Regions from separate parts of the Homo sapiens genome. Here region 1 is linked to region 2. Evidence: promoter capture Hi-C in 16 types of primary human blood cells and fetal thymus (Javierre and others, 2016). All regions are on one chromosome and are shown on one strand. Each heading gives the region's core, a stretch centred on a gene start or on the middle of the fragment in contact. The rest is flanking DNA. Distances are from core to core; before and after follow the strand shown. Region 1 has its middle 23 kb from the start of NCR2. Region 2 holds the start of UNC5CL (unc-5 family C-terminal like).

Region 1 (7,756 bases), core at 3,452-5,951, 270 kb before region 2:
ACAATAAAATGAACAAATAACTAAGATTGACTTATACAAAGTCAATAAAGCCCCTTGGATATTATCAAAACTTTGACAAAATGATGTATTTTAAAAATATGCATACATAGAATCACTTTTCTTGTTGCACTTATGTAAATAATCAGATCAAGTTTAATGAGACTACTGATTTTGCACAAAAAGAAGAGTTAACCATGATTATTTTTGGAAAAATTTGGAATGACCATAAAAAAGATTGTATTTCAATAGAAAACTATAGCACCCATCATCAAATTCTGGTCTTTGTTATGTCCTTGTAAATTGGATTGAATCCTAACATTTTCTAGTTTCACTAGAAACTAAAACTGCTTTTTTCCGAAGCCCTGCCAGCTGAAATTGGATGACTTTAAATTCAGAAAAATTACTACAACAGACCATGTATGGAAAATTTTCATGCTGCTGCTGTGTGGGTCACTTGGAGAATTCACTGGAACACCTGATGATATTTCCAGAGACATTCAAACTGCAAGCCAGGAAAATCCATCAGGTTGCAATTGCCATCCTCATTCCATCATCTAAAAATGCTTCAAACTCAAATTTAGAAATCTTGACAGGCTGCTCTCTGGACTTAAAGACTAAGATCATAATTTGTTCCTAATGTTAACCTTTTTTTTTTCTTTTGTTTTTATAGAATGCTACCTTGAATTCCCTTCAAGCAATACTATCTGAAATAAACAATTTAACCTCAATAGTACTCCAAAATAGAAGTCCTTGATACCTTAGCAACTTAACAAGGAGGCTCTTATTTGTAAAAAAAAATATTGTTTCTATATTAATAAATTAGAAATTGTTGAGCCCAATTTAAAGGATCTTAAGGAACAAATATGTCTTTTATCAGACAGGTGTTGCCTCCTCCACTGATTTATTTTATTGGTGAAATATTGGCTCCTGGGAATCTGTGCTCCAGGGAATTTAAAAATCCTTGGCTATTATTCTCTCTGTAGTCATTTTGTTTACCATCCTACTATATCTTATCCTCTCAAGGATTTCAAAGCTTTCCAGAAGGCACTCACACATCAAATGATTGCCATCATCATTAATTGACTTGAAGAACTCAACAACCCTACCACTGAAGCCCATGATGCAGGTAATGATGCCATGTAATCTTATATCCCAATACAACTGTTGAGGATAAGATTACATGACTCTTTGTTCCAGTGACTATTTCACTAGTGGTAACTGAGAGGAATGCTACCACCTTCTTCTTAGCTTGCTGAGAGGGTGACCCAACGCGGTGGGATTGTTAAAGTAAATTAAAATGGAGACCAGACCTGAAGAATCCCAGAGGGGACAAAAGAAGTTATGATTTGTAAGTGACCTAAACCTTGCTTGATTTGCAAACATAACCAAACTTAACTTGAGCTATTTCTTGTGAATGCCTATATATATCTATATCTATATATATATTTTTAAAAGCAGAACTTAAGCTCAACCAATCAGAAGTTACTATTTATACAAACTTAGATAACGAGGGGCTTTCCAAGTTGAGAGACCAAAAAAAGCAATTGTATAACAGTAACCAATTAAATACTTTGCTTTACTTCTGTGTCTGTCTTATAAAAGTCTCCTCTTTGTGTTCCTCAGTGGAGCTCCCAAACTATTTCTGGTTCGGAGCTGCTCAGTTCATAAATTGTTCATGCTAAAAAAAACTCACCAAAACTCTTTAAAATTTTACTGTGCCTCAGTTTATCTTTTTAACAGTTCAAAAAAGATTAAAATAAATGATAATTATATTCTGTCCTGGAGAAGTAGGGAAAAAGTCATTCTTATGCATTGTTGGAAGGGAATAATTGATAGCCTTTTCTTGGAGAGCAGTGGTGTAATGAATTAAAAGTCAGAACAAGAAAAAACAAACAAACAAAAGCACATGTTTTGGAACCAGCATTTCTAAGTTTTGTTTTTTTTTTTCTCAGCAAGTATTTTGTTGAGCATCTTCCTAAAAAGTCATGCCTGCAGCCTTTTTTTGCCCTGTATGGATGCACTGCCTCCACCAGTTGGTACACAGCTGTCTCTTCCTCATGTTTCTGGGGCTTCTCTTTGTCTCCTCTACAACGTTTTCTTGATTCTTGGATCTTTGTTTACTCCTTTGTACTGGTGGAACCCATCCTTGAGTAACTACGGGAGAAAGGGGGAATGGAAAATACATTTTGACAACTTTTATATTTAAAAATGCCTGTTTTACCATGACAGTTTGACTGATATAAAAAATTCTGAGTTGGAAACAATTTGTCCTCAGGATTTTGAAGGCATTGCTATGTTACCTTCTTGCTCCTATTGTTGTTGAAAAGTCAGGAGCAATTATGATAACTATGGCAATATGTGATCTGTTGTCTTCACTTTATCAGCGTTTTCTTTTTGTTCTCGGTGTCCTGGAATGTCACAGGGATGAGCCTTGGAGTGTGTCTATTTCCATCCCTTTGCTCCGCACAGTGAGTGGCCTTTTCGATCTAGAAATTCACAGGAAAATTTCTTGAATTAGTTCATGCATGATTTTCCCCTCTCTGTTTTCTATGTTCTGTCTTTCTAGAACTCCTTTTATTCAAGCATTCACCTCCTGGATCAGTTGTCTTTTTCTTTTTTTTTCTCTCCCATTTCTCTGTTGTTCTCATTCTCTCTCTGCCTCCCTCTGTTTTGGAAACAGCCCTTGGAGAAAAAGTTTTCTGTTTTTATTTATGGTTCCTTAGGTGGTCTCTGTTTCTTCCCAGTTGCCTTCACTATTCTCTGTTTAGTTTCTTTCTTCTCTTTCACTTGAGAGCTTTTTCTCAGGCCTGGGTAACAAAATTCTAAAGATAATTGGATGCTGTGAGCCCACAGTGGGGCTGGTGCCCTGGGAGTTTCACAGGAGGGTGACTCCTTGGCCATTTGCTTGAGGAAGTGCCTTGTCAATATCATTCAGCCTTCTCTCTTGGGCTGCTCAGGATCCCCAGGGAAGACTCACCCCATCTCTTGTCTGGAGGAAGAAGATCTGGCTGCCAACTTTCTGGAATCCAAATAGGAGAAGAGGGCTGGAGTGTTTCTCAGCTTCTGGTACATGTTCTTCACATAATCCCATGGTTTTCAGGACATTGTCACCATCCTCACCTATACCTATTGCCCACCCCTTCCCTACCACACACAGAAACCCAGCCTTCTTTGCAACCTCTCTAAGGCATTCATTCCCAGTTGTCTGCCAAGGTGGGTCAAGGTCGCTCATCTACAGAAAGTGGCAAGGGGATCTGGGTTCCTCATTGCTTCTTAAACAACTTTCTACCATTTCTTCTTAATCGGACTCCCCTAAACCACCTCCACTTTCTCAGCCATCTTGGCAATACTGTTGTGTAAATAAGACTTGACTTCTGCCTTCCTCAACTCTGATGAAAGGTTCTGTTTTCTCACTTCTAAGTCATTTCCCACTTACTTATATATTTTTTTCAGCTCCCCAAATTTTCTTGCTATTTTACCTTCTAGTTTCCCTCGTTCCTATGTTTCCTGCATTTCTTTATGTTCATTTTTGTGGGTTTTAGGAGCGAACAGAAATAAAGGTGTATGTTCCATCTGCCATCTTTCCCTGAGAATCTGAACGATGATCTTAGATTACAGAATCTATGATCATAAATAAAAATGGGCTGATAACCCATTATTCTTATTTGGTCCTTGTGTGGTTTTGGTATTAATATTGTTCTAGCCACAGAAATTATATGAGCAGCTTCTCCCCTCTTTTCTATTTCCTGGAATAAATTGTATGAATTAAGAAATATCTATACCTTGAAAATTCTTCTGTGCCTGAAGTTGCCCTCCCCTCACCTCTCTAGCAGCTGAGATGGTTATATGACTGGATGTTGATTTTTGAATTGTTGTTGCTCTAGTCAAGCTTTTAATCTCAACACCAATTTTAATATTTTATATCTTCCAGAAATGTATCCATTTTATTTAAGTTATTCAATTTATTAGTGTATGATTATTCATAGTATTGTTATTGTGAAAGTCTCTTTTGGGTGTTCAGGTATTTCTCATTTGTTCTCTTTTCTTTTCTTTTTTTCTTTTGAGACAGAGTCTCACTCTGTTGCCTAGGCTGGAGTGCAGTGGCGCAATCTTGGCTCACTGTAACCTCCCCTGTCTCTTGGGTTCAAGCAATTCTCCCACCTCAGCCTCCTGAGTAGCTGGGATTGCAGGCGTGCATCACCAGGCCTGGCTGATTTTTTGTGTTTTTAGTAGCGACAGGGTTTCACCATGTTGGCCAGGCTGGTCTCAAATTCCTGACCTCAAGTGATCCACCCACCTCGGCCTCCCAAAGTGCTGGGATTACAGGCGTGAGCCAATGTGCCTGGCCTGTTCTCTTTATTTTCTCTTTGCACTTTTAAACTTGTCTCTTGATTAGTCTTTCTACAGATTTGTATATCTTGTTCTTTTTTTTTTTTTCAAGGGCAGTATTTTATTTTGTTTCTTCTTCACTCCCTCTTCTCTCTTTCACACATATATTTCTCTATTTATTTGATTTCTGCCTATCTTAACTAAGATAATCTTAGCTCCTTTAACAGTATAGTTCCAAATCTCAGAGAGTAAAAGTTGATTTCTTACTCGTCTAATGGATGGTGACTCCGCAGGACCATTCAGGGGCCCAGGCTTTCTGTCCTGTGGCTCTGCTGACCTCCAGGTCTTCAGAGTTCTTTGCCTCCAGGAGTGGATGAGAAAAGAGAAAGTATGGCACATGGGTGTGTTTATAGGCCAGGTCTGGAACAGTGCCCATCACTTCTGCCCTCACTGCATGGGCTAAGATGGGTCTACCTGAGCATCTAGGAAGAGAAGAAAATAGGTATTTGTGAGCACCTTGTAGCTCTGCCTCTCTGCCTTCATTTCTGTCTTTTCTGCTGCTTGGCTGCAAAGCTGCACATGTGCTGGGCAGGACTCAGGGAGGCTGAGTAGGAGGAGCTACAGGCAGGTGCTGCCCATGTCAACAAGGTGAGTTGAGCAACAATGCACCTGAGAGACCCTAGCACCTACACTAACCTTCAGAACATCGCACCTGCCACTTCACCTCTGCCTTCCAAATCTCATGAAAGTTTCTCTTGCAAACCCAACACAGAGCCATAGAGGTAAGTGGATCCTCAGAAATGCAGTTCCAGCTTATCTGAGTTGCTGTAGCACAAACCCTGTGCACCTTCTCTCTCTCCACCACCCTTTCCCTCTGTAGCAGTTGTCCCCATGTGACGTATGGCTCACTTTTTTGTCTCCATCCTTCCATGAGAATGGAAGCTCTATGAGGACAGGGTCTTCGTTTACCTTGTATTCCCATATCCCCAGTCCTAGAACAGTGCTTGATGTATAGCAGTAGGTAATAAGTATTTCCTAAATTGGAATTAGTTGAGTATTTATTTAGTGTGTACCAGGCTCTGCTGTAAGTGCTTTGAAAGGGTTAGTTCATTTAATCTTCAAAACACCCAATGAGGGAGCCACTAAACACTTAGAACTGAGAAATGGAGACTTAGAGAAGCTTTGTAAATCACTCAACTCAGGCAGCTCATAAGAGGCCGAGTTGGATTATAAATGCAAGCAAGGGACTCCACAGCAATGGCACTGTGATTTAGGTGTCATGAAAACTACGGTAGAAGTGTAAATGAATCTATATATTTCTTTCCTCATTTTATTCATTTATTTTTAATACAGCCATGTCATACAGAAAATAATATATATTTTTTGAGACAGGGTCTTGCTTTGTTGCCCAGGCTGGAGTGCAGTGGCACAATCACAGTTCACTGCAGCCTTGACTTTCTGGGTTCAGCTGATCCTCCCACCTCAGCCTCCTGAGTAGCTGGGACTACAGGCATGTGTCACCTTGCTTGACTAATTTTTAATTTTTTTTTTTGTAAAGATGGAGTCTCCCTATGTTGCCCAGGCTGGCCTCAAATTCCTGAGCTCAAGTGATCCTCCTGCCTCGGCCTCCCAAAGTGCTGGGATACAGGTATGACTCACTGTACCTGGCCCAGAAAATAATTTTTTTAACCCCAAAAAAGGCTAGACCACTCAACAAGGGTTAATGAAGTCTGATAACTTGCATATGTTATACTAAAAGTTGGATAAGTACTTAGTGTAAGTAGAAAAATAAGTAAAAACTAGTTCAAAATGTATTTGTGGGCACTCCTTAAAATTATATCCAATAGAAAAAGATACCTAAGGGATTGAAAAAATCTTTAGAAGAGCTATACCCGTAGTATTTTGTATGAAACCATTCCACTTGGTAAATAGGTTTCCCAGAAACATTTCTCAATAGGCAAACTGATCCTGAAGGGAATGGGAAGTTGACTTTTGCTAAACTACTCTGCTCTGGTGAGCTCTCTAGAGGCTATGTGACTCCCAGGCCAGAATACTGGGGTCTGCTGCTTCCCCCCACCACTCCTGGGACTGGAGGTACCTGAGAAAAGGAGAGCCCAAGGGTCTTGGAAATTGGCTTGGAGAGCTCATATTCTATCCCGTGAGGGTGGCTTGACCTTATGGGACACTCACCAAGGTGGAGCTGAGCCTAGAGGATGGCTGTGACCTTCTCAAGGGTCCATCTTCCCAGTGACCAGAGAGCATGGCCTGCCAGAGGCACTGCCTGCAGGCCCTGGAGACCACTGACAGATCCTTTATTGGCTTCCCTGGTCCGTTGTTGTCAAGAACCCTGGAGGTTACCATCCTGCTGCCCTAGGACCACCAGCGTGTTCTTGGGGAGCTCACAAACATCCCTCTCTCGTTGAAAATGGATTTTTCCTTCTGTTTTACAGAGGACCCCACAAACTCAGCTCACTCACTGTGGACTTTAATCAATGTTATGTTTGGAGCATTGGGGGTAAGAATACTCAGACACACTCACATATACACATGCATGCTAACCCACATACACGCACACACATAGGTACACAAATGCACATGCATACCTGTGAGCTATACGTGAAGGCACATTCCTGCACACACACACATAAACTCAGCTTCATTTAGGAACATATAATACTGCTATGTCCTTTGGTTTTCTCATGTCATATTCTCTTCCATTTCCATTTCTACATGTAGGGTTAAATCACACAACAGAACAAACACGTGTGGCTGACTTTTGCATGTTTGAGGCTGCAAGGCTGGAATGGATAGAGCATTCTTCAAAATCTTGACAGTTTTTTACTCTTTTGTAGGTCCCATGCTATTTTCTTAGAAAAGCATAAGAAGTGATAAGGTTGAGTGGTGGGTGGGTCAGTCCGTGGAGAAAGAATGCCATGCTGAGATAGAAACTTATTTTGGAGTCAGTGAGGTGTTATGGTAACTTGATTAAAGTTAAATGCATGTAAAAAACAATAGGATTTCCAGCTCCCAGTCTGGCAAGTAAGGAGCTTGAAAATTGTCACTCCATCCTAACAAGTAAAAGTTGATCAAGCTGAAAAATCAATAACTCTAGAGCCCCCCAAGCCTGCCCCTTCCCATCAAGCCTGCAATTTTCCTCTGACTCTGTTCCTGCTTCCTGATCTTCCTCTTTCCTGCTCTGTCTCTGTTCCTTTCTTTCAGCCCAGGGGTCCATGAACAAGGACAATAAGAGGAAATCCGTCTTCCTATGACCAGTGATCAATACTCTGGTCACTCTCTCCTGTGTCCTCAGGGTGCCTGGTGACAGTCCAGAGATCTCTCTGAGAAGACCAATCACAACAATGGCTCAGAGTATTCCTAACCCTTAACTCAGAATGGACTTGGTGGTGGGGGCTCTGGAAAGCCCTGG
Region 2 (7,559 bases), core at 2,077-4,576:
CCTGGAAAGTTCACAATCTGAAGGCAGGAGCCAGAAATTCCTGGGGACTCTTTTCTAGTCACGAATGCGGCAGCACATCTGTCCCAGGCTTATCTCACCATATCAGACTGGCACACTCATGGGGCCCACCCAGGCTGATCTCCTGCCCAAATTCAAACTTGGCCTGTTGACACCGTGGATTCCTTTTTCTGAACTTTTAGCTCTCTTCTACCCCTGGAGCCATGGGGTATGAGCTTCCTGCTCCATCTTTCCATTCCCAGAGTGTCAGGATGTAAGCACAAGCATCCAGGTTTCTTGTGGCCTGACTTTTCAAGGAAACAACTGCCTGGTCTTTGATTAAAAAGCTGCCAAGGTGGCATGTTGCTTTGCATGTCATTTGCATGTGGGACAATGTACAGACCCTCCTCCAGCCAAGGCCCCACCAAGGCCCCACAAATATCATTCTTCTCATTTGTTCATGATATTTCAGCCTCCCCCCATGATTAACCAGATTTGAAGGAGAGAAAACAATCTGATTATTTTCAGTATTCTGGACTGACTATCTAATCCATCCTTTTTTTTTTTTTCTTTTCATACAGAGTTTCACTCTTGTTGTCCAGGCTGGAGTGCAGTGGTGCAATCTCGGCTCACTGCAACCTCTGCCTCCCTAGTTCAAGTGATTCTCCTGTCTCAGCCTCCCTAGTAGCTGGGATTACAGGCGTGCGCCACCATGCCCGGCTAATTTTGTATTTTTAGTAGAGATGGGGTTTTGCCATGTTGGTCAGGCTGGTCTCGAACTCCTGACCTCAGGTGATCCACCCGCCTTGGCCTCCCAAAGTGCTGGGATTACAGGCATGAGCCACTGTGCCTGGCCCTAATCCATCCTTTTCTGTCAAGGGTCAGGGACACTGGTCCTGGAGGTTCTGGGACAGAGCTGAGCAGCATGCCCACCTGTGCATATTTCTACTTGTCTTTCTGTGCTCCTGACTGTCCGTTTGCTCATCTTCTGCCTTCCTGTTTTTCTACATTTCTGTCCAGTGGTGGAGGCCCCCTCCCTGCCCCTCCCTGCCCCCATCCTCTTTTCTCCTGACACCTGCCTCTCCCAGTGCCTCCTGGTTCCTAGGCCTGTGCTCCCCTTACCTCTGGCAGCACACCTCCCAGGCGGGGGGCCTGATGACATATGATGTGTGGAAGGCAGAGGAGGGTGGGGCTGGGAGGAGGGTGGGGCTGGGAGGAGGGTGGAGTGGTGCTCCCTGCTGATCTGCCTTTCTCAGATGAGAAGGGTGGTGACACTGGCTGGGAAGTCCAAGTTGCTGTTTCATGGCCCCAAAGAGTTCCTCTCAGGAGGAGCCCCTCTGGTCTGCCAGACCCTCCTTGGTGCCTGGCCTCTGGAGGCTACCCCTTGATGGAATGTTTGAGGGCTTGTGGTGAGGGTTTGACACTGGCCCTCCTGTGACAGCTCAGCCCCCAGTTATAATGCTGTTGATGCCTGTGGTCTTTGCATCCCATGAACCAGCTCTGTGGCCATGGGAGTGAGTGGTAGGAGCCTTCACATTTCTTCAGAGCCTCCTTATAATTGGGATTGTCCCCAAGAGTGGCAAGAACTAGCTTGGGAAGTGAGTTCATAATCCATGAACACAGCCCCTGGTTATAGCCTCCTGGTTGGCATGACCTTCCTGGCTTAGAACCCTAGCTTGACAGATCTTTCACAAACCCCTAGGACTTTATGACTCAGAGGAGAAGGCAGCTGACAAGTGGAGGTGGGTGGGGAGTCAAGGAGGAGTGACCTGGCGCTTCCTGGCAGAAAGTCCTGCCTCCCAGCCGCCCTAAAGAGGGGTAGGGGAGAGTGTCCCTGTCTGTTGGCAAAGTCCAGCCTCCTGTGTGACTCAGACAGAGCTTTGTTCAACAAAGACAAACACCCCTACCCCACTCCTTTCATTCCCTATCAAAGTTCTGAGCACCCCTTCCTGGCTTGTCTTTAGGCATGAGGTCTGCTTCCCAGGTTGCCCGCTCTCTACCATCTCTGCACTTTGGGGTACTGGGCTCCCCTGGGAGGTTTATTCCACCCTCTCACCTCCACCAGGGAAGGAAGCAGAGGGGAGGGCATTGCAGTCAGAGACAAGAGGCTAGAGAATTATTAACTGAGACAAAAGCAGAGGAAGTTACTTATTTTCTATGGGAGATGATAACTAGGGGCCTGGGGGGGCGTTCACCATGCCTCCTCAACTGCAGGAGGCCAGACCCTGGTGACAACGGTTACCATCTATTGACCACCCATTCTGTGGTGGGCATTTGACATTTATTAGCTCAATAATGACAATTATTATCTCACACAAGGTAGATATTCTTAACTGCATTTGACAGACAAGGGAATTGAGGTTCAGAGGAGTTAAGTAGCTTGCCCAATATTACATACCCAACGTGTGGCTCACCTGGGCTCAGTGTTGGCCAGTTGGAGCCAAAATGCATCCTTTTCCCTCTCAACTGCTTCACTCATTCATTCAAGACATGTTTATTGAACACCTTCTATCTATCAGGCTGTACCAGGAGCTGAGGAGACAGCCGAAAACATGGGAAAAGTTCCACAAGGAGTTTTCATTCTTGTGGTGCCACCGCTCCTAGGCAGAGTTTTAAGAACTCAGAATGGCAAATGGCCCCAAAGTTCAGTTGTCTCCCAACCGGCAGTGTCTCTGCCAACTTTGGGTGGGGGAAGTAGAAAGCACCTTGTGTAAGGAAAAATATGGGTACATCTCAGGTCCACCAGCAACTGGTGAGTCATTAACCGTCTCAGTGGCTCCACTGTCTTCTCTGTGTGGGGAGCGGGTGGAACTAGATGCTCTCTAAGCTCCTTGGACCGGTTGCATTGGCATCAGCTGGGAGCTTCTTTGAGCTGCAGAATCTCAGGCCCCATACTAGACCTACAGAATCAGAGCCTGCATTTTAACAAGATCTCCCAGGTGACTGTTGTGCACATTATAGTTTAAGAAACTCAGATGAAGGTTCCCTCCTCCTCCTATCTGCTATTTTAATAATAGCCTCTGGCTGGGGACAGCCACTCACCAGCAGAGGGCACTGTAAGGAGGGGTTTCAAGGTGCAGCACCTACACCCAGGTTGTCTCCCTGCCTCCCTCCTTCCTTCCAGACCTAGACTGGAAAGTTCACTGACTTCTGGGATCCTCAGCTAATCCCTTACCTGGGCTGGACTTTGCCAATAGACAGGGACACTCTCCCTCACCCCTCTTTAGACAGCTGGGAGGCAGGGCTCTGCCAGGAAATGCCAGGCCACTCCTGCCTGGATTCCCCGCCCACCTCCACTTGTCTGCTGGCCTGCCGACTGAATCTGGCTGACCCTTGTTTCTCGGAGAAGGAACTGGACCAGCCAGCAGCCTCTAAGAGCTCCTAGACGGTAAGTTGAGCACCCCCTTGGGGCAGCTGGAGAGGGGATGGGCATTGTGATGGGGTTACCTGGAGCTTCGGGGGAGGAGCCAGGCCAGCTTAGCCTGCCTGCTGGAGTGTAGGGACCCTCTGCTGGAGGAGGGGAGGAAAATGGGACTTGGCCAATGGGTATGAGGACCACTGGGATGATTCTGTGTCCTGCGGAAATGTCTACTATACTAACAAATGCCATTCATGACTTGGGTTTGGACCATCCATCCCAGTACTTGTTATGTTCTGCAGTAACTGGACATCTATCAGGTGTTGGGGAGGCACAGGGAGAACCAGTGAGGTGGAGGAAAGGTTGAGAGTTTTCTTAAAGGGTATGAGCAGAACTTTGCAGCAGGAGTTTGGATCTTTGTGCTGGAGGATGCAACTGCCTAGGGACAGGTGATGGCAGCATTCTAAAGGACTCTCGTTTCGGGGACCCGCTACCCAGGGTGATCTGGGGTCTGGAGCAAGACAGACTGGAGGAGTGGGTAATGAGGAGTCCAGGCATGGGGTTGGGATGCCCCAAGTCACACTCGAATGGCTGCAGTGCTATAGTTGCCATTCAGCAAGACTCCGGACCTTTCCCCATTCTGGAGCCAGAGGGAGGATGCAGTGAGGGCCAGGGCAGCCTGGAAGAGCAGTCACCCTGGGAGAGGCCCAGTGGGGCTTTGGGAGTGGTGCATGCCAACTTCTCCAGGGTCGGAGGTTGAGCCAGGGGACTCTACTGCACCACCCAGTGAGGTGCACCTCACTGGGGATCTGGACTCTGGTCTTTGGTGGCCCCAGGAAGGTTACTGCTGTGTAAGCGAGCTGGGGCCCCTCCTTTCATCCCTTTAGCAATTCCATCCCCTGCCACTGGTACCTTGGTAGGTGGGGGTGTGGTGTAGTGGGGTGGGTATTACCACATAACTGAGGATGTAAATTTAGGTCCTTCTATTTGTCTTTACTTCATTTTTGCTTCTTTCTCTTCCAACTTTATTTCTTCTAGAGAAGGAAAGGAAGATACTTGGGGAAAAGAAGGGGTGGAGAGAGAAAGGGGGTATCTCTGGAAGTCCTTGTTCGTCTTTGCTCCTCCTTCCTGCCTGTCTTCAGTTGTTTAGTAATTCCCTATCCATCTTCACTGTGGGGAGAAAGCTCGGATTCCTTATCTGTGAAATGGAGATAAAAATAACACCTCGCTCCTAAGGCTGCTGTGAGGATGAGATGAGACAAGCCATGGAGAGTGCTTTAACACAGTGGCATTGAGTAAAGCTCTGCGAATGTTAGCTATTGTTATTACAGTTGGAATTATAATTATTACTAATGTGAAAGAACCAAAAGAAATGATGGGACATCAACGGTAGCTTGCTGCTCCAACCCCCTTCCCATCAGCTTTGGGACACTGCCAATTCACTGATTCACCTGTGTGCCCTCCAGGATGCCTGGTTGAAAAAGGCTGGTGCATTGTCTGCTGGGTTGGCTCTTTAGGCAAAGAGAACAATGCCAACCCCCGCTTCTTATTCACACTTTCAGTGAGGACATGGGAGAAACAGGTACTGCCCCAGTCTTCAATCCTGAGGATACAGTGGAGGTTCTGCCCTGGTCTAAGAGGCACTAGGAAGGGGCTTCAGTTTTCATGGGTCCTGAGGTTGGAAGGAAGAAGGTGGGCCAAGCCTCAGTTCCAGGTGGGTAGTGCAAGTGAAGGGCGTGGGGAGGACTGGATACTGGAAGCTCTTCCAGTGCAGCCTCTAGTGAGTCAACCAGAGGGGCCTCCCAGGGCTCTGAAGGAGGACGTTGTGCCTCACAGAACTCAGCTACCAAGCCAATGAATTCCATTCCTGCAGAAGCTCCTTGAGAGCGGAATAAGACGTCATCTTTGGCAGGATTGAACTTCCCACAGTGTCCGATACACAGCCGGTGCTTAGAAAATGTTCATTTGAGTGGGAAAATCACACATGACAGCACATAATCAAGAGTGACTCAGTATGGTGGGATGGCTGTGGAGAGAGATTTCGCGAGCTGGAGGCTGTCAAAGGCCGGTGCACCAGCGGGAGGCACTATTGAATGGGAGGATCCACGTAGGGAGAGGAAACAAGTGGGGAGAGCAAGTGAGTGGAGAAACAGAAAACAGCATGAGCAAAAGCCAGAGGCTAGAATTAAGCAGGTGTGGGGAGCCTGGGCAGGCTACAGGGCAGGCGTGTTGGAAATTGTAGGGGCTGGAAGAGGGGAAGTAGGAGGAGGCGGAGGTGGGTTCTGGAGGGCCTCAGGAAGAGCTACTGGGAAGTCTCAGCCTGTGGCCTGGCTGGGTAGCCAGGTGAGCAGGAGGTGAGTGTATGCTTTTGCCCTGCCTCATTCCAGCTTCACTGTAGGGCTGCATCTTTGTGTTTTGTCTTCTTCATTTTTTTTTTTTTTTGCTTCCACTTTTAGCTTTTGTTGTTCTTGTTGTATGTTGCCTATCCCTGTGAGCTACCTTCAGGCCTTTCTGGCAGAAGGAGGGGCATAAAGAAACACATACATTTGGACAGTGCTTTCTCATCTACAAATACTTTTCACATGACCTTATGCCATCCTCACCATTACACAAAGAGGCACTTTTTCCCCACTTTTAATAGCTTCAGAAAAGAATTACAAAGTTAATACAAACTACATGCTTGATGTGAAAAATTCAAAGTACAGAGAAAAGGATTTAAAAAAATACAAAGTTTTTATTCACACCTTCCACCTTCTCAATTTGTTGTGACTCATGGGAATAGTTTGGGGGTGTGTCCTTCCAGACCTGCACAGTCTAAGACCGGATTCATTAGTACACGTGGCTACTGGGCACTTGAAATACAGCCAGTCCCAAGTGAGCTGTTCTGTTCATATAAATTACACATGGATTTCAAAGACTGGGTATGAAGGAAGAAAGTAAAAATATCTCATAATTTTATATCGATTACCTGTTGAAATAACATTTTGAATATATTGGGTTAAATAAAATGTATTAATTTCTCCTGTTCTTTTTAATGTGGCCATCAGGAAATTTAAAATTACATGTGTAGTTCACATTACATTTTTATTGTACACCACTGCTCCAGACCTTTCTCTATACCTTTACATTTCCATATATGCACCCATAAATATGTATCTATTTATATGCAGTTTTGTTTTTCACATTAATGAGCTCAGAATATTTTATCTCTCTGCGACTTGCTTTTTCCACTTATAGATTTTTTTGTATCAGCACTTGTAGATCAAGGTAGATATTTGGACAGATGAGGAAACTGAGGTACATTAAGCAGTATTGAGGCAGGAGGTGGGATTTGATTCCAGGCCAGATAGAAAACTGGCTGAAACAGGGAAAAGGCACCAAAAGCACCTCTCCATAAGACATGCCCACCAGTGCCATGACAGTTTACCACTGCCATGGCGATGCCTGGAAGTTACTGCCCCTTTCCATGGCAGTGACCCGAAGCTACCACTCCTTTTTCTAGAAATTTCTGAATAACCCACCCCTTACTGCATGTAATTAAAAGTGGACATAAATATGATGGCAGAAATGCCCCAGAGCTGCTACCCTGGGCACACTGCCTAGGGTTAGCTCTGCTCTGTAAGGAGCATACCTCTGCTGCTGCTATACTCTGCCACTTTAGTGAAAGTTGCTGTCTGACACCACTGGCTCACCCTTGAATTCTTGCCTAGGTGAAGCCACAAACCCTCCCAAACTAAGCCCCAATTTTGGGGCTCTCCTGCCTTACATCAATATGATAAGTTTACCCAGCCACAGTGACCAAGGTGACATTTGAACTCATGTTCTCTAACTGTAAACCCAAGCTCACTCTGCTTCAGAACAGTTTACCTTGATGTATTAGGTCACGGGGAGCCAGGGTAGGTTCTCGAGTAAGAGAGACAGGTTAAAAGAATTGGTGTGACTAAAGTGTGCAGTGTGCGCTGGAATGAAGACAACTTGCAGCTATGTGTAAGCCAAGCCTTGACCTCCACAACTTAAAAGGGCTTACCCTGACACTGACCCCTTCTTCCCCACCAGGCCTTTGGCTTTGGCTGGCACAGGGGTGAAGGAGAGCCAGCGGCATTGAGTAACCAGGCGAATGTGCCCCCAGGAGAGTTCATTCCAACCCTCCCAGTTCCTACTGCTGGTGGGGGTCCCAGTGGCAAGTGTCCTCCTTCTGGCCCAA

The links. The method cuts DNA at HindIII sites, captures the fragments that hold promoters and counts their contacts. A CHiCAGO score of 5 or more calls a contact.
Region 1: a contact is called between a fragment that was not itself captured here and the fragment with the promoter of UNC5CL in region 2, in 1 of 17 cell types (neutrophils). The highest score is 10.0, in neutrophils.

The regions. Positions count from the first base shown.
Region 1 is chr6:41,309,139-41,316,894 of GRCh38, reverse strand. No RefSeq gene overlaps it. Among named protein-coding and RNA genes, the nearest start is that of NCR2, 23 kb to the left of the region's middle. The HindIII fragment of the contact is 1,620 bases long and covers 3,892-5,511 here.
Region 2 is chr6:41,034,988-41,042,546 of GRCh38, reverse strand. UNC5CL (unc-5 family C-terminal like) reads left to right here and starts at 3,326. Exons shown (of 9, transcript NM_173561.3): 1 at 3,326-3,385; 2 at 7,412-7,559. The coding sequence starts at 7,473. TSPO2 (translocator protein 2) reads right to left here and starts at 80. Exons shown (of 4, transcript NM_001010873.3): 1 at 1-80. The HindIII fragment of the contact is 17,483 bases long and covers 1-7,559 here.